3 separate regions of the Homo sapiens genome follow, and regions 2 and 3 are each linked to region 1. The links are contacts of gene promoters, found by promoter capture Hi-C in blood cells and fetal thymus (Javierre and others, 2016). All regions are on one chromosome and are shown on one strand. Each heading gives the region's core, a stretch centred on a gene start or on the middle of the fragment in contact. The rest is flanking DNA. Distances are from core to core; before and after follow the strand shown. Region 1 holds the start of ARL4A (ARF like GTPase 4A). Region 2 holds the start of CRPPA (CDP-L-ribitol pyrophosphorylase A). Region 3 overlaps TSPAN13 (tetraspanin 13).

Region 1 (2,700 bases), core at 164-2,663:
TCAAAATACTCCTGTCTCACTCCAGCACATACAAATGGTGTAGTTGAATGGTATATTGGAAATTATATCTATTGCAATTAAAATTGTGTGAGCAATTTGAAAGAAAAGAAAAAAAGAAACATCCCTTTCATCTTTCAGAGTGTATTTCCTTATGTGTCAAACTGGAATATTTCTATCTGTGGCCAGTTCCCCGGGATGCTGCTAGAAACACGTGAGACAGCGCGTTCATTTGCTCTACAAAAAGCGAATGAAGGCGCAGTTACCAGGCCAGTCAACCCAGGCTGTTTAAGGTCAACTACTGGGGGACTTCCACGTCACCTCGATATATACGTAACGCGTGTGTGCCGTAACCCGTGAACTATGGAATCCCTAACCGCGAATCACGTGGCTGCTGCCCCGCGGACGCCCTAGACGACGTGAGGGAAGGCGGTGCCGGGCGGGGCCTGTGCCAGGCTGGCGGGCCGCCGCAGACAGAGCTACCCGGAGCAACCGTTCAGGGGTGAGGCCGGAAGTCCCATCCGACCTCGCGGGCAGCCAGCGCTAGGCCGATTCGAACTCGACCTTGTTTTGGCGTTGCTAGGAGACGCGGCTCCTGCGCGCCCCCTACAGGCCGGCGCCCGGGCGGCGCGCGGGCAGGGGGCGGGGACTGTCGCGTGGAGCTGCCGGGCGAGCACCGTTAGGGCAGCCTGGCGCGCGGCGCCCGCCAGGCGCCCAGTCCTCTGCCATCGCCCACGCCTCCCTGGTGCCAGGGAACAGGTATCAGCGCGCCTCCCCAGCGGCTGGGAGAGACGCTGAATGAAGAAGAGGGAAGGACGGTTAGTCAGGTGAGCCGCGGCGGGGTGGGCGGCCGGGGCGGCCACGCCCTGCCGAGGGAGAAGAGCCGGTCGTGTGCGGAGGGACAGGGTGAAGGGATCCCACTTCGGGGAGGATGGGCTTATCCCGGCGGGCGCGCCAGGTGGGATCTCTAGCGCCTCAGGGGCCCGCGCGGCAACAGCCGGCACCCTCGGGCCCGCGGACAAAGGGTTAACGCGTTGGCAGTGACTGCGGGCCCCGGATGTGAGAGCCTTGGCTTGACGCCCTGGCTGCGCTGCAGGTGCGCCGGGCCGAACGGAGCCGGCAGCCTGGCGGCGACCTGACCGCCCGAGGCTCCCCTTCACCTGCAGCGGCTGCTCGGCTCCCTCTGGGAACGCCGCCTTTTCTAACTTAAGGGCAACAGGTGGTGCCGGTGGACCGAGAGAGAGCTCAGCTCCGCCGCGCTGGGAGCGGCAGTTACCCTCACCAATTAGGGAGCGGGGGCGGGAGTTGCATGGCTTCCCTGATGCGGGTGACCAATGGGATTTGGGATCATGAGTGGACCGGGAGGAGTGGGCGTGGTCGGAGTCTGAGTCCAAGGTTTCTCGTGCGGCAACTGCCAGAGCTGCTTGGAGAGCTAAGCTGGAAGGGTGCTTATCCCTGCGTAGAAACGCCTGCCAATGCTTTCTCATTTGGACCCAGACTCCAGATCGGGAGGTGAGAACGTTGTTATTTTGCAAGGGGTAGGAGGTAATAGTGATCTTGGGTATGCTGTTAAGCATGTGGAATTAGATTCCGAAGATAGGACTATCTGCTATGAGTTTTCTGCCAGATAGGCACTTTGTGGTTACGGCCACTTAGACCAGATACTGGTGACTGGGTTCTTTCCAGAATGAGGTCTTTGAGGTTTGGGGACCCAGGAGAAAAACGTACATATTACTGCAATTTAAGTAAACCAGATAATTTCAATCACTGTTATTCCATCGTTTGTCTTGGACTGTGTGTGTTTTCATGTACGTTTCATATCTCGTCTGGTTTGTTTAGCGCAGCAAGTTATAGTAAGTTCTTCGTGTTGTTTATTTTAGCAAAGTAGAGCAAACCTGTTTTAATGTATTATTTCGGGAGAATAACTTATTCCTTCTTCCGTCTCCCAGCAGTCTTATAGCTGGATCAGCTACCAAGAGAAGTTGTAAACCAAGAAGAGAAAAGCATTTCAATTTGGGACATTTATTTGCACCTGGAAATGGGGAATGGGCTGTCAGACCAGACTTCTATCCTGTCCAACCTGCCTTCATTTCAGTCTTTCCACATTGTTATTCTGGGTTTGGACTGTGCTGGAAAGACAACTGTCTTATACAGGCTGCAGTTCAATGAATTTGTAAATACCGTACCTACCAAAGGATTTAACACTGAGAAAATTAAGGTAACCTTGGGAAATTCTAAAACAGTCACTTTTCACTTCTGGGATGTAGGTGGTCAGGAGAAATTAAGGCCACTGTGGAAGTCATATACCAGATGCACAGATGGCATTGTATTTGTTGTGGACTCTGTTGATGTCGAAAGGATGGAAGAAGCCAAAACTGAACTTCACAAAATAACTAGGATATCAGAAAATCAGGGAGTCCCTGTACTTATAGTTGCTAACAAACAAGATTTGAGGAACTCATTGTCACTTTCAGAAATTGAGAAATTGTTAGCAATGGGTGAACTGAGCTCATCAACTCCTTGGCATTTGCAGCCTACCTGTGCAATCATAGGAGATGGCCTAAAGGAAGGACTTGAGAAACTACATGATATGATCATTAAAAGAAGAAAAATGTTGCGGCAACAGAAAAAGAAAAGATGAATATCAATACCTATTATATCTGTGTGGAGTAGGTTTTCTCTGGTCTGATTTTGACAAATAGA
Region 2 (2,700 bases), core at 1-2,500, 3.7 Mb after region 1:
ATATTTGTAATGCCGCTGCTTCCCACCCCTGCACCCTCGCCCCAAGCTCCACCTCATTACTCAGTGCTAAAAGCAAAGTAAGTTAATATTATAACATACCCCTTCATTTCACTTCCTCAGCTCCTCACGACTGTTCCCCTAGTCCTCCTTATCCCATTCCCTGTCTCCTTCATTTCCCCAACTAGTTAACTTCAGTGCCCTTTCTAAGATAAAGGGGGTATGACCTCAAATTCAGGCTTAAAGCCCTTTCCACCATTGAAAGGTTATTAAATTCTGCTCCTCTCCCCTCCTGCAGCACCTAGTAATTAGCGCAGCCTGTCTCACAGAAGGTGCTCAGTAAATGAATGAAAAAAACGAACACACGCCCTGGAAACTTCAGTGTGCACGTACAACTCAATCCACGCATGCGCGGAGGCAGAGCCCCAGGACCGCGAGACTATCCGCACAGCTTCTCCTCAGGCCCCACAGCTAGAACCCCAAATCGCCTAGTCCCAACCCATGCACTCTCTAATCGGCGCCACACGACGGGCCTTCCCCACAACCTCATCTGCTTGGGGACGTAAAGGGCTCTGTGGGGGAGCTGCAGCTTTCGTGCCCATCTGTTAAAGGCCAGAACTTCCCATCTCTGAAATGCGGGAGGGAACAGAGCTCAAGCTTGAATAACTGAGCGCGGCCCGGCAGTCCCCCAAGTGAAGGTGCTAGCGCTAGAGCAGCGGCAGGGCGGGGAGCGGGAGGCCGGGCCCCAGGGAACCGCGGGGCGCGCCCGGCGCCGCATTACCTCTCCAGGGCCTGTAGGGTGTAGCTGATGAGCGGCCTCTCCAGGATGGGGCAGAATTGCTTCGGGGTGGGGACCCCCATCCTCTCCCCGCACCCCCCGGCAGGCAACACAGCTGCCACGGCTTGCGGGTGGCGCCCGGGCTCGGTCCCGGCCACGCTCTGCAGGGAGGCGGAAGCCGTGTGGTCCGCGCCGCGCTGACCACTCAGGCAAGGACCCGGCTCCGCCGGCCTGGCGCTGCCCGGCGGCCCGGCCTCCATGGCTGCGGGCGGAACGGCGAGCCCCGCTAGCCTCGGGCCGATGCGACCCCGCGCTGCTCCCACCCTCGGCCGGGGTCGCGGGGCGAAGGGCAGACCACGGAGAGGGACGCAGAGCGCGCAAGCAGAAGGCGCCCCCCTCAGCCGTCGGAGCCCCGCTGTTGCTGCCCCGCAGGGGACGATCCCGACAGCTACGGCAGCAGCTGAGGCTGCCGATCTGCCCTCGCGGCTCGGCTGCGGCCTCCGCACCCGGTCCCAGCGCCTGCGGGAGGGCTGACTTGCCCGCTCTGCGCTTCCCCCGGGCAGGCCCAGCTGTCGCCGCAAGTGGAAATGTCAGAACGCCCTACATATCTAAAGATCGCAGATACTCAAGGGCCATGAGTATGCAGGAGAGGTCAGGCCTCTGTCCCATCCCTCCCTGCTTTAAAATTTCGGAAGAGATTGGGATTCAAGTCACAGGATGGGACGTAGGGTGCGTATGCACCTCGATTATCTGAATTCCATTAAGCTCTGGAGGCTTCCTGGTTCCACCTGGGGTAAAGACAGATGGATTAGCAAGTGTTATTGTGGCACATCAATAATCCAAACTGTGGTGGCTCTCAAACTTGTCTGCACTTTGGAACCACCTGGGGAGCGTGTCCTGACACGCTCAGAGATTGGGATTTAATTGGTCTGGTGAGCACCGGACTTTGGAATGTTTTTAAAGATCCTCGGGTGATTCTGATGAGCAGGCATGTTTTGGAACCATAGGGTCAAAGCAATACTAATTGCTGAACAATCGATACACCTTATGTCATTTAGTCCCCAGAAGAACTCAACTATTGCCATTTCCCTTTTTACAAAGGGGAAAAGACGTTAAAATGGTTAATTTATGTAAGATTGCACAACTAATGGCAGAGGAGCCTTAAGGCCCTCATACAGAAGTAGGCCAAAGTTGAAGAATTCCAGGCCTAAAGCATATCTTACCTTATTTAGTACTCTTGTTGCTGGTGAGGTTTACCATGAAAGTATAGTGAGAATTTGGAGGAGAGCACTATTGTATTAGGTCCCTGGAATGTAAACTCCATGCAAGCAGCAACATTTTTCTTTTGGCTTGGGTTGTGTGTGTGTGCCCAGCTCCTGGAATGTAACACAAGCTTAATATGTATTGAATGAATTGCTGATTAAATAGATTAATGATCATTAAAGTGTATAATCATCAGTAATTCAGTCTTAATCCAGTGGCTTATGATTAATAAAAAATAATCTTTTTAAACACTGGAAATGTTATCTAGTTGTAGTATTACAATTTTTATTTTTACCTGTTTTCTTGAGAGCATATAAAAATATGTTTTCTGCTTTTCCTTTTTGTTTAGTCTTATTGAAGGCATTCTTTCACTTTTGTTACTTTTATTATAATTAGCATTTAGGTCCTGTGCTAGTTGGTTTCTTAACTGAAAAGTGGGTGCCATAATATACTTCCTTGTAATTTTTATTGCTATCGTTCCTTTCTAATTTGATCTCGAGGTCTCTCTCTTACGAGTGGCCATAAGCCAGAACAGCCACTCTTCAGGAGAGCCCTGGCCCAGAGAGGAAAGCTAGGTTCTGGTGTGCAGGTGAGACGCCAGAGGAGGCAGCACACAAAACATGTGAAATAACAGGCGCATTTTATTACTTACAGATTCACCA
Region 3 (2,700 bases), core at 189-2,688, 4.1 Mb after region 1:
TTCTGCCAATGATTTAGTCATCTGTTTGCCAGACACTTAGTCTTACAGTGCCTGCTTACACAGAGTGGAATGTCTACTTTGCATACTTACTTCACTGAAGGGTCTATATCAATGTATAATCTTTTTTAAAAAGGCAAGTTATTTTAAAATGAAGTTCCTTGCTTTCTAGACATCATTTTTAGTTGTATTTAGAGTATATCAGGAAAGTGAGGCGAAAGAAAGGTGATTCTAAAGGGACATATTAAGACTATTTAATATCTATTCTAAATTATTGACCTTCAAAGTGTGTGTTCTATTGATTTTAATAGCTATGCAGTAAAACTTAATGAATTGGAAATTCACGGGACAATAAAAATGGCTAGCCCTTTTAAATCATAGACTTTTTAGACAAAGGGACATTTCTTAAAATGAATTAGTGGCTGCTTGCTTCTTTTACATTGTAAATAGGCTTAAATAACTGCAGCAGTTTAAAGTGGAGGCAAGTGACAGGTAAAAGTTGGATCAAGTCTTAGATAGATGCTGAAAATGTGCCATGGCCATTATTTAGCTTCTATTTCTCCCCTGATCTCTTTCTCAACATTTTAAGATGAAAAAAATGTGAGGCAGTTGGGGATGGGATTGAGCATGAAGACTTGGGAGACATTTCTCTATAAGTCATGAATAGAAACATTCTTTGTAGGTTCTAATCCCACCCTGGTCACTGCCTCTAAAATGTGCTCAACGCTACAGGATTACATTTGAGGTCATTTCTAAAAGTGTTGGTTAAACCAGGATTGCATATGGGAACGGCAGATGCCTGAAACATCATCATTGCTGTGTTGAAGCATTTTACTGAGGAACTTAGGACTGTATCAGCTGAACTGTCCACATGCTCTGGTGGCTTGCTGATGAGCCTGAGATTCGTGCCACATTCATGATCAGCTCAGAAAGCATGTCACTAAAAACAAGTTGGAAGTCCCAAACAAGGAAATTTGATCACTAGGCAAAATGTTAACAGTTGATTTTTCTTGTTGTTTATGGCTTGATTATTTTAGTTAATAGGATCGCCAGTACTGGACAAGCTTAAATTAGTGTAGTATGTGTTAACAGTTTGTAAATATAGAAGAAAAGGGGGAAGCTACATTCCTGAATTCACCTTCACAGTATTCTAAGAGAATGACTTGCCTCAGAGCTTCCTGCATTTAAAGAAACTTTCAGTTTCTTCATTCAACAATTATTGAGTGCCTACTGTGTGCCAGGCTCTGTTCTCAGTTTGGAAATACAGCAGCAAACCAAACAGGGCGTAAAAATCAATGTGCTTTTATGAAGGCTCTTTTTTATTTACTACCTTTTATACATATGTTTTCAGGAATTGTATTCAGTCAATAAACTTTTGTCTACTGTGTGCACTCTTTTGAGAACTGTGGGAAATAATAAATACCTATAAAGGCAAATGCATTGTGAAGACAGGATCTAGATGAGAGACATGGAATGGGAAAATTAAATGGCGTATAAGGAATATACTGACTTTAGGTACCATAAAATTTAGGACTGTGGCAGATATTTGTGGGTTAGAGAAGTTGGGGGAATAAAGGAGGTGTGATTGAATCAAGGAAATGTAGAAATAGTGTGTGGGTCTTTTTGATACCATTTAGGATATACATAAAAATGAAAATGATTTGGGAAAATGACTTATTTTTAATAGTTTATAGGAATATTTTAGGCTGAAAAGATTTTGACAAGTAGTGAAAAAAACTTTTGAAAATTATGCTTAGTGATTTGTGGGAAATTTTAGAAAATATGAAATAAAATTTGTATTAAAATACGTAATATTTTGAAGCTTTATAATGTGTCTCCTTGTGCTTCTTAACCAGAGAAGAAAGCTCTATTAAAAACAAACAACCAAAAAAAAGGTAGCTGACTTTGTTAAATAGAACCAAACTGAAAAATATGACCAAACATATATTTACTGGGACTTTTTAAGAGTTGCCCTGCCAGTTTTAAAATCAGGAGGGAAATTTCAGAAGTTGCAGTTTTGTTTCTCCTGTGTGTGTTCATTCTTATAACATCTTTCCATGTTTGTTTCTTTCTCTTTTTCGTGATTCTTTTTCCTTATACTTTTGGTTGTTTTGAGAAAAATTCTCATGCAGCATAAAAATTATACTGAATTACTTCATAAACACCTTAATTTATATTTTTATCACCTCTGAAGTTGGGATGCATTTTATTGTTTCTATTTGTATTTTTGAGATGGAGTTTCACTCTCGTTGCCCAGGCTGGAGTGCAATGGCGCGATCTTGGCTCACTGCAACCTCCGCCTCCTGGGTTCAAGCGATTCTCCTGCCTCAGCCTCCTGAGTAGTTGGGATTACAGGTGCCCGCCACCATGTCCAGCTTATTTTTTGTATTTTTAGTAGAGACGGGGTTTCGCCGTGTTGGCCAGGCTGGTCTTGAACTCCTGACCTCAGGCGATCCACCCGCCTCGGTCTCCCAAAGTGCTGGGATTACAAGCATGAGCACTTTATCTACTATAAAATGCTCCCGGCCTGGGATGCATTTTATAGTAGATAAAGTGTGCCATATCTGTTAGATAAAAAAATACGACCATACAATTTATGGGAAGAAAATTCTGTTTTTAATCTGTTAGATAAAAAACATATGTCCATACAAATTATGGGAAGAAAGATCACTGGATTTATGAAGAAAACTGAAACTTTTCCAA

What was found. The method cuts DNA at HindIII sites, captures the fragments that hold promoters and counts their contacts. A CHiCAGO score of 5 or more calls a contact.
Region 2: a contact is called between the fragment with the promoter of CRPPA here and the fragment with the promoter of ARL4A in region 1, in 2 of 17 cell types (non-activated CD4 T cells and naive CD4 T cells). The highest score is 5.8, in non-activated CD4 T cells.
Region 3: a contact is called between a fragment that was not itself captured here and the fragment with the promoter of ARL4A in region 1, in 1 of 17 cell types (total B cells). The highest score is 6.5, in total B cells.

Annotation. Positions count from the first base shown.
Region 1 is chr7:12,686,220-12,688,919 of GRCh38, forward strand. It overlaps ARL4A (ARF like GTPase 4A), which reads left to right and starts at 1,414. Exons shown (of 2, transcript NM_005738.5): 1 at 1,414-1,509; 2 at 1,947-2,700. The coding sequence starts at 2,036. The coding sequence ends at 2,638. It also overlaps the pseudogene LOC100505995. RefSeq lists silencers at 449-728, 929-978 and an enhancer at 923-1,459. The HindIII fragment of the contact is 3,768 bases long and covers 1-2,700 here.
Region 2 is chr7:16,420,288-16,422,987 of GRCh38, forward strand. CRPPA (CDP-L-ribitol pyrophosphorylase A) reads right to left here and starts at 1,251. Exons shown (of 10, transcript NM_001101426.4): 1 at 779-1,251. The coding sequence starts at 1,035. It overlaps LOC105375168 (a long non-coding RNA gene), which reads left to right and starts at 399. Exons shown (of 5, transcript XR_007060223.1): 1 at 399-695; 2 at 2,693-2,700. RefSeq lists silencers at 842-901, 922-1,061. The HindIII fragment of the contact is 1,514 bases long and covers 653-2,166 here.
Region 3 is chr7:16,755,625-16,758,324 of GRCh38, forward strand. All of the region lies in intron 1 of TSPAN13 (tetraspanin 13), which reads left to right. Among named protein-coding and RNA genes, the nearest start is that of TSPAN13, 3.2 kb to the left of the region's middle. RefSeq lists a silencer at 720-1,014. The HindIII fragment of the contact is 758 bases long and covers 1,060-1,817 here.